Linked DNA regions of Homo sapiens: all the other regions are linked to region 1. The links are contacts of gene promoters, found by promoter capture Hi-C in blood cells and fetal thymus (Javierre and others, 2016). All regions are on one chromosome and are shown on one strand. The core of a region is centred on a gene start or on the middle of the fragment in contact, and the rest is flanking DNA. Distances in the headings are between cores, read along the strand shown.

Evidence for each region. Contacts are between HindIII fragments. The CHiCAGO score rates a contact against its expected background, and 5 or more counts as called.
Region 2: a fragment that was not itself captured here is called in contact with the fragment with the promoter of KBTBD4 in region 1 in 1 of 17 cell types (M2 macrophages); the score reaches 5.8 in M2 macrophages.
Region 3: a contact is called between a fragment that was not itself captured here and the fragment with the promoter of KBTBD4 in region 1, in 1 of 17 cell types (monocytes). The highest score is 5.4, in monocytes.
Region 4: a fragment that was not itself captured here is called in contact with the fragment with the promoter of KBTBD4 in region 1 in 2 of 17 cell types (neutrophils and monocytes); the score reaches 6.0 in neutrophils.

The regions. Positions count from the first base shown.
Region 1 is chr11:47,577,720-47,580,495 of GRCh38, reverse strand. It overlaps KBTBD4 (kelch repeat and BTB domain containing 4), which reads left to right and starts at 1,526. Exons shown (of 4, transcript NM_018095.6): 1 at 1,526-1,563; 2 at 2,468-2,776. The coding sequence starts at 1,545. NDUFS3 (NADH:ubiquinone oxidoreductase core subunit S3) reads right to left here and starts at 1,422. Exons shown (of 7, transcript NM_004551.3): 1 at 1,338-1,422; 2 at 1,162-1,227. The coding sequence starts at 1,404. RefSeq lists enhancers at 649-1,307, 1,376-1,615, 1,308-1,967. The HindIII fragment of the contact is 1,977 bases long and covers 1-1,741 here.
Region 2 is chr11:47,296,051-47,298,955 of GRCh38, reverse strand. It overlaps MADD (MAP kinase activating death domain), which reads right to left. Exons shown (of 37, transcript NM_001376571.1): 24 at 2,901-2,905. Among named protein-coding and RNA genes, the nearest start is that of MADD-AS1, 25 kb to the right of the region's middle. The HindIII fragment of the contact is 2,613 bases long and covers 285-2,897 here.
Region 3 is chr11:47,312,361-47,315,244 of GRCh38, reverse strand. MADD (MAP kinase activating death domain) reads right to left here. Exons shown (of 37, transcript NM_001376571.1): 30 at 1-25. Among named protein-coding and RNA genes, the nearest start is that of MYBPC3, 39 kb to the left of the region's middle. The HindIII fragment of the contact is 1,449 bases long and covers 627-2,075 here.
Region 4 is chr11:47,273,148-47,275,871 of GRCh38, reverse strand. MADD (MAP kinase activating death domain) reads right to left here. Exons shown (of 37, transcript NM_001376571.1): 2 at 1,896-2,045; 3 at 713-1,309. The coding sequence starts at 1,957. Among named protein-coding and RNA genes, the nearest start is that of MADD-AS1, 2.4 kb to the right of the region's middle. The HindIII fragment of the contact is 3,506 bases long and covers 1-2,724 here.

The DNA of each region.
Region 1 (2,776 bases), core at 277-2,776:
AATGGAGAAGGCAAAAGCCAGCCCTGCATGCAGTCTCTTAGGCTTGTAAGGGATGTCAAATCCAGGAAAGGCTCCCTGAAGCACCTTGAGAAAGGTGCATGTGAAAGGTTTCCCTTCTAGGGAATACAGTGATGAAAACTTGGGGAAAGTGCCACCTTAACTACACGGTCCTCAGAAAGACTCTTACTATAGCAGCTGGGGTGTTCACCTCTTCTCAAAATTACTCCACAGTTCTTCCCTCACATTGCCTGCATTTCTGCTAAAGCAGTAGTCTCAGTTCTCCTGTCAGACTAAGAGCTGTTTGAGGATGGGAACTGAACTTTTGCCTCTCTGTAGCTCCTTAGCACGCAAGTTTATACCAGGTTCTCAAGCTAAGAACTTCAGGGCTTGAAGATCCCTCACAGACTCTCTCTCTCCTTAAAAGTGTGTGTGTGTGTGTGTGTCAATGAGAAAACTGAGGCCCAGGTGTGTGTGTGTGTGTGTGTGTGTGTGTGTGTGTGTGTGTGTGTGTCAATGAGAAAACCCAGGAAAGGAGAAATGCCAGGTCTCCTAACTCCCAGTCCGTGTATCTTGACTGTAACATAATATGTACATACTCATTCATGCAACCCTAAACCACTGAGCAATCACACATCACAAGCTACAGAATAATGGTTAGGTGTTTCTGCCTCTGGCAGCAGGCAGGCCTACTTTGTCATTCACTAGGTCTTTGACCCTGGGCAGTTTAATTCTTTGGACTGTTTCCTGATCTATAGTAAGAAGAGTAAGATGCTATCTACCCCATAAGGCTGTTGTGAGGACGAAATAAGATCATTCACTAAAACGCTTAGCGAGGTTCCAGGCACACATTAAGCACTCAATTAACGCTAGGTACTATTATTACAGGGCTCTGAGGCCTAAAGGTTATATTGCTTGCTTTCAAAGAGCTGACAGTTTAATCAGACAAAAAGGGGATGATTGAAATGGACAAGGAACAATCAGGGCCATAACAGGCCTAAGGGCACAGGGAGGGCTCGATTCTGCATGCAGGGTGAAGACCACTGCAAGTCAGATCTCCAAGATTTGCCAGGAGGACGTAGGGAAGGGCATCCTAGGGCAAGGACAGGCATCTAAGGGGCCCCGCCGATAGTTCAGAGAAGAGCGCTGCCCGCACATACTCACGGCGCGTGTCGGCCCCGGCGCTCTCCCGCCTCACCGGCAGCAACAGAACGGAGGGTCGCCCAGTCCCTGCACAGGGAGATAAAAGGCACAGACGCGCGGGATGAGCCCTGAGGAGCTCTCTGCACTGGGCACGCCGCTGCGCCTGACCCCGGTCTCAGCTGGCTGCCCGTGCTCACCCCTGGTCAGCGCCGAGGCCCCCAAGATCCCGCGCCACCACAGCCTGGCTACCGCCGCCGCCGCCATGTTACTCAGATGCAGACTAGGCAGCGGACGGAAAGACAGCAGGACACGGAGCCCCAAGGGCACGGACCGGAAACGGAAGTGTGCAGCAGATCTTCTTCCGGGCGGACGTGGAGCCGGAAGCGGAGGTTCCGGGCTCCGGGATGAAAGGAGGGAACGCAGGTGAGAAAGCGAGACAGGCAGGTAGGGAAATCGTGAGGTGAGCGTGGTCCTAGCTCCTTGTGGCAGAGCCTAGAGAGAAGGCGAGGACGCTGAAGAACCAGGCGGGTGAGAGGAGGGGAGGGGGCGGGCGTTTTGGGTTCTACGCTACACACCCCTCCCCCGCTCTCTGAGCCAAGCTTTTGACGAGGGCGGGCGGGCCTGAGCGGGAAGAACGGTTTCCCTGGCGACCGTTTCCAAGACGACTCAAGGTGGAGCGGGGACATTGCACAGGGTGATGGGCCTCCCAGTGCCCCGGCCTGGGGGCGGATGGACTCAAGTTCTGGGACGCAGCCATAGGGAGTCTTTCGAGCGAGCGGGGAAGTGTGGGGGAAGCAGCTCAGAAGAGAGCAAATGTAAGACCCACGGATATCCCAGGCTAGGCTTCATATGGAGCGTCTTAACTCCATGCGCTGGGAAGGAGAGGACCTGGCCACTAGGCCGGGGCCAGGGGTCCTTTTTGTCTGATTCTACTGCCCCTGAGCTTCACTAGTTTTATGCCCCAGTTATTTGGTTAGTAAGGCTTTTACGATCACAGGCCTCTCCCAGCCCTTTGCTTTCATATATTGACCTAAATCCCAAGTCTTTTGTTAACATTATGGAAAGGAATTATTCCGTGTTTTCTCAGGAAAACACCCAGAGTTGGAACTTTTATTTATATCATTAGCGGAGGGGCGCCACTGGGGATAACGAACCCAGATTTGGTTAAAGGATAGCGTCAGGGACATCATGGACAGGGCCAGGACTAAGGCCAATCTGGACCCACTTTGCTCTCACTTCTTCCTTTTCCCTCCCTGAGTTGGACAGTTGGATTCACAGACTATGGCTGTGAATTCCTCAGGTTACTCAAGATGGTGTTGCTTTGCAGACAGCTGGCAGAGAGAGAAGTTGGCTAGCATGGAATCACCAGAGGAGCCTGGAGCATCCATGGATGAGAACTACTTTGTGAACTACACTTTCAAAGATCGGTCACATTCAGGCCGTGTGGCTCAAGGCATCATGAAACTGTGTCTAGAGGAGGAGCTCTTTGCTGATGTCACCATTTCGGTGGAAGGCCGGGAGTTTCAGCTCCATCGGCTGGTCCTCTCAGCTCAGAGCTGCTTCTTCCGATCCATGTTCACTTCCAACCTGAAGGAGGCCCACAACCGGGTGATTGTGCTGCAGGATGTCAGCGAGT
Region 2 (2,905 bases), core at 342-2,841, 280 kb after region 1:
ATTCACTGGGGATAGGGACAGTCTCTTCAATAAATGCTGCTCGGAAAACTTGATATCCATTATTCAGAAAAATAAAACTAGACCCCTTAGCTCTCACCATATACAAAAATCAACCCAAAATGGATTAAAGACTTAACTGTAAGACCCAAAACTATAAAACTACTAGAAGAAAACGTAGCAGAAATGCTTCAGGACATTGGTCTGGGCAAAAAGTTTATGGAGACCTCAAAAGTACAGGCAACAAAAGCAAAAGCAAAAACAGGATTATATTAAACTAAAAAGCTTCTACACAACAAAGGACACGATGAAATGAGTGAAGAGACAGTCTGCAGAATGGGAGAAAATATTTACAAACTATTCATCTGACAAGGGATTAATAGCCAGAATATACAAGAAAGAAAAAACTCAACAGCAAAAAAACACAAATAATCTATTTAAAAATGGGCAAATGAGCTGAATAGATCTCTCTCAAAAGAAGACATACAAATGGCTAACAGGTGTTTTGGAATAATGGGCCTCTACACAGGCCTTGAAGCCAAACTGCTGTAGACGGTTCTCACTGCCGCTTCCATTTATGAGAAACTGATGGTTGCTATCTTCACAGTTATGCGGCTGAAGAGTACAAGCAAGCACTGAGATGTCTTATAGTAAAAAGTTCAGAAGATGCTCAAGGTGGAGGATTTTCTTCTAAGCGAAGAGAAGTAATTTTCCTATTACTCTGGCTCCTTCCACCACAAATGTCATCCTTATTGGTTTGAAAAGCATCTAAAAGTAAACAGGAAGTATAGCAGGCTAGCCCCGTTGCCAATTTAATTTTTACGATCCATGGTTAGATTTTGTGGTGAAGGTTGAACTAATATGTAAAGAAGGCCGGGCGCGGTGGCTCATGCCTGTAATCCCAGCATTTTGGGAGGCCGAGGTGGGCAGATCACAAGGTCAGGAGATTGATACCATCCTGGCTAACACGGTGAAACCCCATCTCTCCTAAAAATACAAAAAATTAGCCGGGCATGGTGGTGGGCGCCTGTAGTCCCAGCTACTCGGGAGGCTGAGGAAGGAGAATGGTGTGAACCTGGGAGGTGGAGATTGCAGTGAGCAGAGATCGCGCCACTGCACTCCAGCCTGGGCGACAGAGCAAGATTCTATCTCAAAAAAAAAAAAAAAAAGAAAGAAAGAAAGAAAAGAAAAGAAAACATTATTGAAAACCCTTGGCCGGGAGCAGTGGCTCACGCCTGTAATCCCAGCACTTTGGTAGGCCAAGGCGAGCAGATCACGAAGTCAGGAGATCAAGACCGTCCTGGCTAACATGGTGAAACCCCATCTCCACTAAAAATACAAAAAATTAGCTGGGCGTGGTGGCGGGCACCCGTAGTCCCAGCTACTTGGGAGGCTGAGGCAAGAGAAGAGTGTGAACCCAGGAGGCGGAGCTTGCCGTGAGCCGAGATCGCACCACTGCACTCCAGCCTGGGTGACACAGCGAGACTCCATCTCAAAAAAAAAAAAAAGAAAAGAAAAGAAAACCCCTAATAAACTGTCAGCACAAAAGAAAAATCAATCACTCAATCAGCCAATCAGTCTGTTCAGACTGAGAGAGAGTTAAGGCCCATTAACTTGAGTAGCCTCTCAGTCCTATTCCCAATCTCCACTCTGGGAGGTCACTGACTCTATTAAAAACACACATACAGAAGGCTCTGGGGGTGGGAATGATAACCAGTTTTAAATAGTTGGTTTCATTTAACTTTTATCTTCCTTTCTCCCCATAGGCCTTAAAGATAAGGACCTATGCGTATAAGCTCTTGTAGAGAACATCCATTCTCATCTCTGTTTAATAAAGTAACAAGTCTATCAGTGTTTTAACACAGCCTATAGAGGCACATACACATTAAAAAGCAGAGGCTGGGCACAGTGGCTCATGCCACTTTAAGAGGCCAAGGCAGGAGGCTCACTTAACCCAGGAGTTTGAGACTGGCCTAGACAACAGAGGGAAACCCCATCTCTACAAAAAACTAAAAAATTAGCCAGGCATGGTGGTGTATGCCTGCAGTCCCAGCTACTTGGGAGGCTGAGGTGGGAGGATCACTTGAGCCTAACAGGTCAAAGCTGCAGTGAGCAGTTGAGCAGTGACTGTGCCACTACACTCCAGCCTGGGCAACAGAGTGAGACCCTGTGTAAAAAAAAAAAAAAAAAAAAACAACAAAAAACAGATGTCTACGGCAAGGACTAAAAAGAATTCATCTCCTTCCAGCTGATCATGGGCTTACTGTGTGATCTAGGGAAGTTCTTTTTTCCTAAGGCATTGTTCCCCTCACCTATTAGAAGAGACTACTCACAGCAATATAGTGAATCACAAACTTCTTGAGTAGAAACCATGCCTTTTTCATCCCTGTTTCTTTAGCACAAAATCTGGCACTTAGTAAATCACTTCATGGATGTTTATTAATGAATGAAAACTTCAAATAACTGTTAGGAATATACTAAAATAAAATGCTATTTTATTTATAAATAGAGCAGTGACCAAAATAAAACTGGATAGTCCATAGAAATAGGCAGACTGGTACTAAACGAGAGCTGTAATTGTCCTGACATTGCCACAAAGGTATTACTTTGCCTGTGTTAAACCTGGGGGTTAATACTACATAGGATTCAAAGCCCTTACGTGACTGGGCACGGAGCCTAACTCATCAATGATTCAGGAGAGGGTTCTAAAAGCCCCAGATTGTGAGTCAAATGACTCTGAACAAAGCCTTAAGAAATGTTTTCCTTAAAGCCAAATATAAGAAGATTACCTCTTCCTTATTTAACCTTTACCTCTTTAGCGTCTCTTAACTTTCATTCTTTTCTTGCCTGCTTCCCTCCCCCATTAAAGAAATGGTTTTCTTTTGTTAATAAACAAAGCTTACAAAGA
Region 3 (2,884 bases), core at 102-2,601, 270 kb after region 1:
ACCAGATAGAGAGATCGCGTCCATTCTGATGAAAGAGAGATTTTTTAGGGACAGTCATACATCCCTCTCAGAGGGCTCTGGGCCAAGAATTCCCCATCCAGCAATCAAATTCATATCGGCTTCCTCAGCACAGTCTCATCTGCTGGCCACTGGTCACCAGGGAAGTGGTTTCAGATGTTTTGGTCTCAGAGGCCCTATATCTCTTAAAATTTATTGAAGATTCCAAAGAGCTTTTGTTTATGTGAGTTATATTTATAGATATTTACATACTAGAAATTTAAACAGAAATTTCTCAAATGATTAATTATAAAAACAATTAATGATTAATATAACCCATTACATAGTAATATAAACATTTTTAATAAAATAACTATATTTTCAAAAAAAAGGCACTGTTTCACATTTTTGCAAATCTCTTTAATGTTTGGCTTAGAATCAAATAGTTGCATTCTCCTATCTGCCTCTGCATTGAGTCTGTTGCAGTATGTTGCTTTGGTTGAGGTATATGAAAAAAACTTGACCTCAGAGATACGTATTTGGAAAATGGAAGAGGATTTTCATAGCCTTTTCAGATAAATAGACGTATTCTTCTTTAACACTACACCAGAACTTGGGAAGCAGAAGCTTCTTTTTTTTTAGAGACAAGGTTTCGCTCTGTCATCCAGGCTGGAGTGCAGTGGCATGACCATAGCCCACCACAGCTCTGAACTCCTGGGCTTAAGTGACACTCCTGCCTCAGCCTCCCAAGTACCTGGAATTACAGGCATAAACCACAACACCCAGCAAAAGCAGCTTTTGAAAGTTAGTTGCAGTGTGGAATCTGAAAGCACATCAATGAACATTTTACATTGTTACATTAAAATCCATTTAGGCCAGACATGGTGGCTCATTCCTATAATCCCAACACTTTGGGAGGCCAAGTCAGGAGTACCGTTTGAGCCCAGGCAGGAGTTGGAGACCAGCCTGGGCAACAAAGTGAGACCCTATTCTCCATACACTTTTTTTTTTTTTTTGAGACAGGGTCTCATTCTGTCACCCAGGCTGGAGTGCAGTGGTGCTCACGGCAGCCTCAACCTCCTGAGCTCAAGTGATCCTCCCACCTCAGCCTCCCAAGTAGCTGGGACTACAGGTGCATGCCACCATGCCTAGCTAATTTTTTTATTTTTTGTAGAAATGGGGTCTCCCTTGGCTGGGCGCGGTGGCTCACACCTGTAATCCCAGCACTTTGGGAGGCCGAGGTGGGCGGATCAAAAGGTCAGGAGTTGGAGACCAGCCTGACCAGCGTGGTGAAACCCCATCTCTACTAAAAACATAAAAATTAGCCGGGCGTTGTGGCGGGCACCTGTAATCCCAGCTACTCATGAGGCTGAGGCAGGAGAATAGCTTGAACCTGGGAGGCGGAGGTTGTAGTGAGCCGAGATCGCGCCGCTGCACTCCAGCCCGGGTGACAGAGTGAGACTCCGTCTCAAAAACAAACAAACAAACAAAAAGAAATGGGGTCTATGTTCCCCAGACTGAAAAAAAATGTTATTTAAAAATTAAGATCCATATCTCTGCCTTGCATTTTGAGTAGATCTTTTATCCATACTTGAATTTACAACATCATACATTGGTATTTAGAAAATACTGTTGGCTGGGTGCCTGTAATCCTAGAACTTTGGAAGGCCAAGGTGGGCGGATTGACTAAACTCAGGAGTTCAAGACCACAGCCTGGGCAAGATGGTGAAACCCCGTCTCTATTAAAATACAAAAAAAAAAAAAAACTAGCCAGGTGTGGCAGCATACGCCTGTACTCCCAGCTGCTCAGGAGGCTGAGGCAGGAGAATTGCTTGAACCCAGGAGCCCAGGAGGCGGAGGTAGCAGTGAGCCAGCATCCTGCCACTGCACTCCAGCCTGGGCCACAGAGCGAGACTCCGTCTCCAAAAAAAAAAAAAGAAAGAAAATAGTGTTTCACTGAGTTACACAGCTCTTCCAAATGTTGACATATTTTGTAATATTAAATCAATGTTTAAAAAATCACATTCATTAATATCACCACCAATCTCATTAGAAAAGTCTTTAAATATTGGGAAGCTTCAAGTTCAAAACTCTGCCAAAATTCTTATTTTCACTTAAAAGCTGAATCTTATCATTGGCAACAAATACTGTCAGTTGTTTTCCCTGAAACAACAGGCTCACTTGATTAACTGAAGGAAAATGTCTGCCAGTTGGGTACTCTGAATAACCATGGTTTATTAATTGTCCTTTCCAGTAAAAATGATGTTCAATGAACAAAGCGATTAAGTTCACTTGCAACTCAAGGTGAACAAATCAAGGCTGCAAATTGCTTTTCTTCAAAACAACCATCATACTGGGTTTGCAACAGAGATGCTTTATGTGTACTTCCCATTTTGTCACAAAGAATATTAAAAACATTTATAATTAATCAATCTAATAAGAGTAACAGTCTTCACTGCTTCTTCAAGGACATTTACAAGCACAACTGGCATTTTTAAAAAACTAAGAGTGTAAGCCAGGTGCGGTGGTTCACACCCGTAATCCCAGAACTTTGGGAGCTAAGGCAGGCAGATCACTTGAGGTCAGGAGTTCAAGATCAGCCTGGCCAACATGGGGAATGCCCATCTCTACTGAAAATACAAAAATTAGCTGGGCGTGGTGGTGCATGCCTGTAACCTCAGGAGCTTCAGCTACTCGGGAGGCTGAAGCAGGAAAACTGCTTGAACTCGGGAGGCAGAGGTTGCAGTGAGCCAAAATTGCGCCATTGCACTCCAGTCTGGGCAACAAGAGAGTGAAACTCTGTCTCAAAAAATATATATGTATATACAAAAATTAGCTGGGTGGGCGGGCACATGCCTGTAATCCCAGCTACTTGGGAGGCTGAGGC
Region 4 (2,724 bases), core at 163-2,662, 300 kb after region 1:
ACATTAGCATCAGAAGCTGATACCCTACTGCAACTCAGTATCACCACAGAGGCTCTAATGATGACAATGGGAAACGGAGCATCATTAAGAAAGCCCAGTCTCTGAGCTCAGATAGGACCGGAAAGTATATACAATGGCAAAAGCAAATGTAAAGATATATACTGGGTAAGACTTACTGTCCTAACCACAGTTAAAACACCAAATTCCAGCATTACTCCAAACACAATTTTGGAAAGAGGTCTAACTCTGCAGCAGTCTTTTGCTTAGTAAAGATTAACTCTTGGCTGGGGATGATGCTCACGCCTATAATCCCAGCACTTTGGGAGGCCAACGTGGGTGGACCACCTGAGGTGAGGAGTTTGAGACCAGCCTGGCCAACATGGCGAAACCTTGTCTCTACAAAAATACCAAAATTAGCTGGTCATGGTGGCGTGCACCTGTAATCCCAGCTACTCGGGAGGCTGAGGCAGAAGGATCACTTGAACCCAGGAGGCAGGGGTTGCAGTGAGCCGAGATCGCACCACTGTACTCCAGCCTGGGCAACAGAGCGAGACTGTCTCCAAAAGAAAAAAGATTAACTCTAAATACTCTAAATATGCTTAATAGGTCTGAAGGACCTTGAGCTGTAGAGGAAATTTCCTATGCCCCTCAAAGACCAATTACATGGAATCTCTAAATGCTTCCCCCATTAGGCATCAGCAGCAAACTGTACCTTTGTACGCCTCGAGGGATGCCCAGTTTCTTGCCCAGAAGGCGCTCACTACAGCAGTCCACCAGGCGCTTGAGAGTATACAAACACTCTCGGAAGGTGGAGAAGAAAGGGTAGTGGCTGAGCACGCACAGGGACGTGAGAGTACTGTTGCGGGAGCGGCTCCCCGCCTTGGCCCGGCGTTTGCCCCGAGGAGACTGGTTCACATCAGGGGTAGAGTCAGCACTGAGAGGCTGCAGGGATGAGCCACTCTCTGAGCTCTCAGTGCCACCCTCTTCTGAGGCACAGGTGGCATGGGTTCCTTCCTTCCCACGGGACCCTGCCCCACCTTCCCCCTTCTCCTTAGAGATTCGCTTTTGGAAGGAGCGGTAGAAGTTAACACAGATGCCATATCGCGTGACTCCAGTGTCCTTGTCAGTGAGGGTGAAGACAAAAGAGGTATCATCCCGAAGGCTCATGCGCCGCTGCCGCACGCTCAGGCAGCCCTCGGGCTGGCAGAAGAACACTACATCTGGGGGCAGGGGAAACTCAGTGTGATCCTCCAAGGGGTATCGCCGTAGCAATTCAGGAGTCTGGGCCACGCTATCACTGCTCGGGTGCCTGAAGAACATAAAGACAAATTCAGCAGCCTGAAGGGATGGAATGGGCTATCAAATTTTAACCACAGTCAACAAATAAAGCTCAAGATGCTATTTTGGATAAAGTAACCTGACTGTAACACCTTGGAAAATATGGGTGCTGCCTGCCGCATGGAGCTGGTAACCTAAGTGAAGTCTACACTGTCATGAAGGCATCTATTCTGAAACGAAGGGGAGATTTTGACAATAAAATTATCACTGGCACCTTAAGATGATTAACATCTTTTAAAGTGAATTAACTAATAAATTACCAAAAAAGTATACATAGAGGAGTAGCTTATAATGTACTTTTTCTTTTTACAAAATAAGAAAACTGAGGTATAAAGAGTATATTTGCTCGACATCAAGAAGATGTTAGTTAAGAGCAGGGTTTTGCTTTCAATCCACCTGATTTTGTTTTTTCCCTACTGGCTTCGATGCTCCCATCAGGGTAAAATAACAGGAGAAGATGAGCTATGCAAAGCAACATGGAAATCGGAGAAGGGAACAACTGCAGATTTTATGGCTATCCCAGATATTAAGACAAAAGTCAATCTCTTCTTGGTTACCTGGCCCCTACGATCACTAGATAGTCAAGTAACCGAGGACAGAACTTCTTCTTTTGCACCATGGTTCCAATTCATCAGTTTATCTCAGAGAAGCATCAGGGCACCAAGCAAGGAGTCAGCATTCCCAGGAGGAATTCTGAAAATCGAAGTCTAATAGGAAAAAAAGTACTGATAAGATCCACTGCTGTGCCTAAGGGACTCATCCCTCTCAACTTCTTCCCGGCCAGAGGCAGAGGTCAGAAGGTCTTCCACTTTCATACTAATGATAGGAGAACTTGACGCTTGCCTAGCCTCGTGTCTAGGCTCATGAGCTCACAGAATCGAATGTTAAAAAATAGATAGGCCAGGCATGGTGGCTCACGCCTGTAATCCCAGAACTCTGGGAGGCCGAGGCGGATCACCTGAGGTCAGGAGTTTGAGACCAGCTGGCCAACATGGCAAAACCCCATCTCTACTAAAAATACAAAAAAATTAGCCGGGTGTGGTGGCACACATCTGTAATCCCAGCTACTCGGGAGTCTGAGGCATGAGAATCGCTTGAACCCAGGAGGTGGAGGCTGTGGTGAGCTGAGATCGCACCACTGCACTCGAGCCTGGGTGACAGAGTGAGACTCCGTCTCAAGAAAAAAAAAAAAATGTAGATAAATAATGGTTCACCTACCTATCCCTACCAATGACTTAATTTCCAGCTTAACGCCTGGGGCTCTGTTTCTGAAAAACAGACCTAGGCCATCTAATCTGGACTCAGTCATTGTAACAAAAATTGAAGTCACTCTCAGGATCCCTCCAGGGTGGATCAGGATCAAACCAGACTCCTCAACTAGCTAGC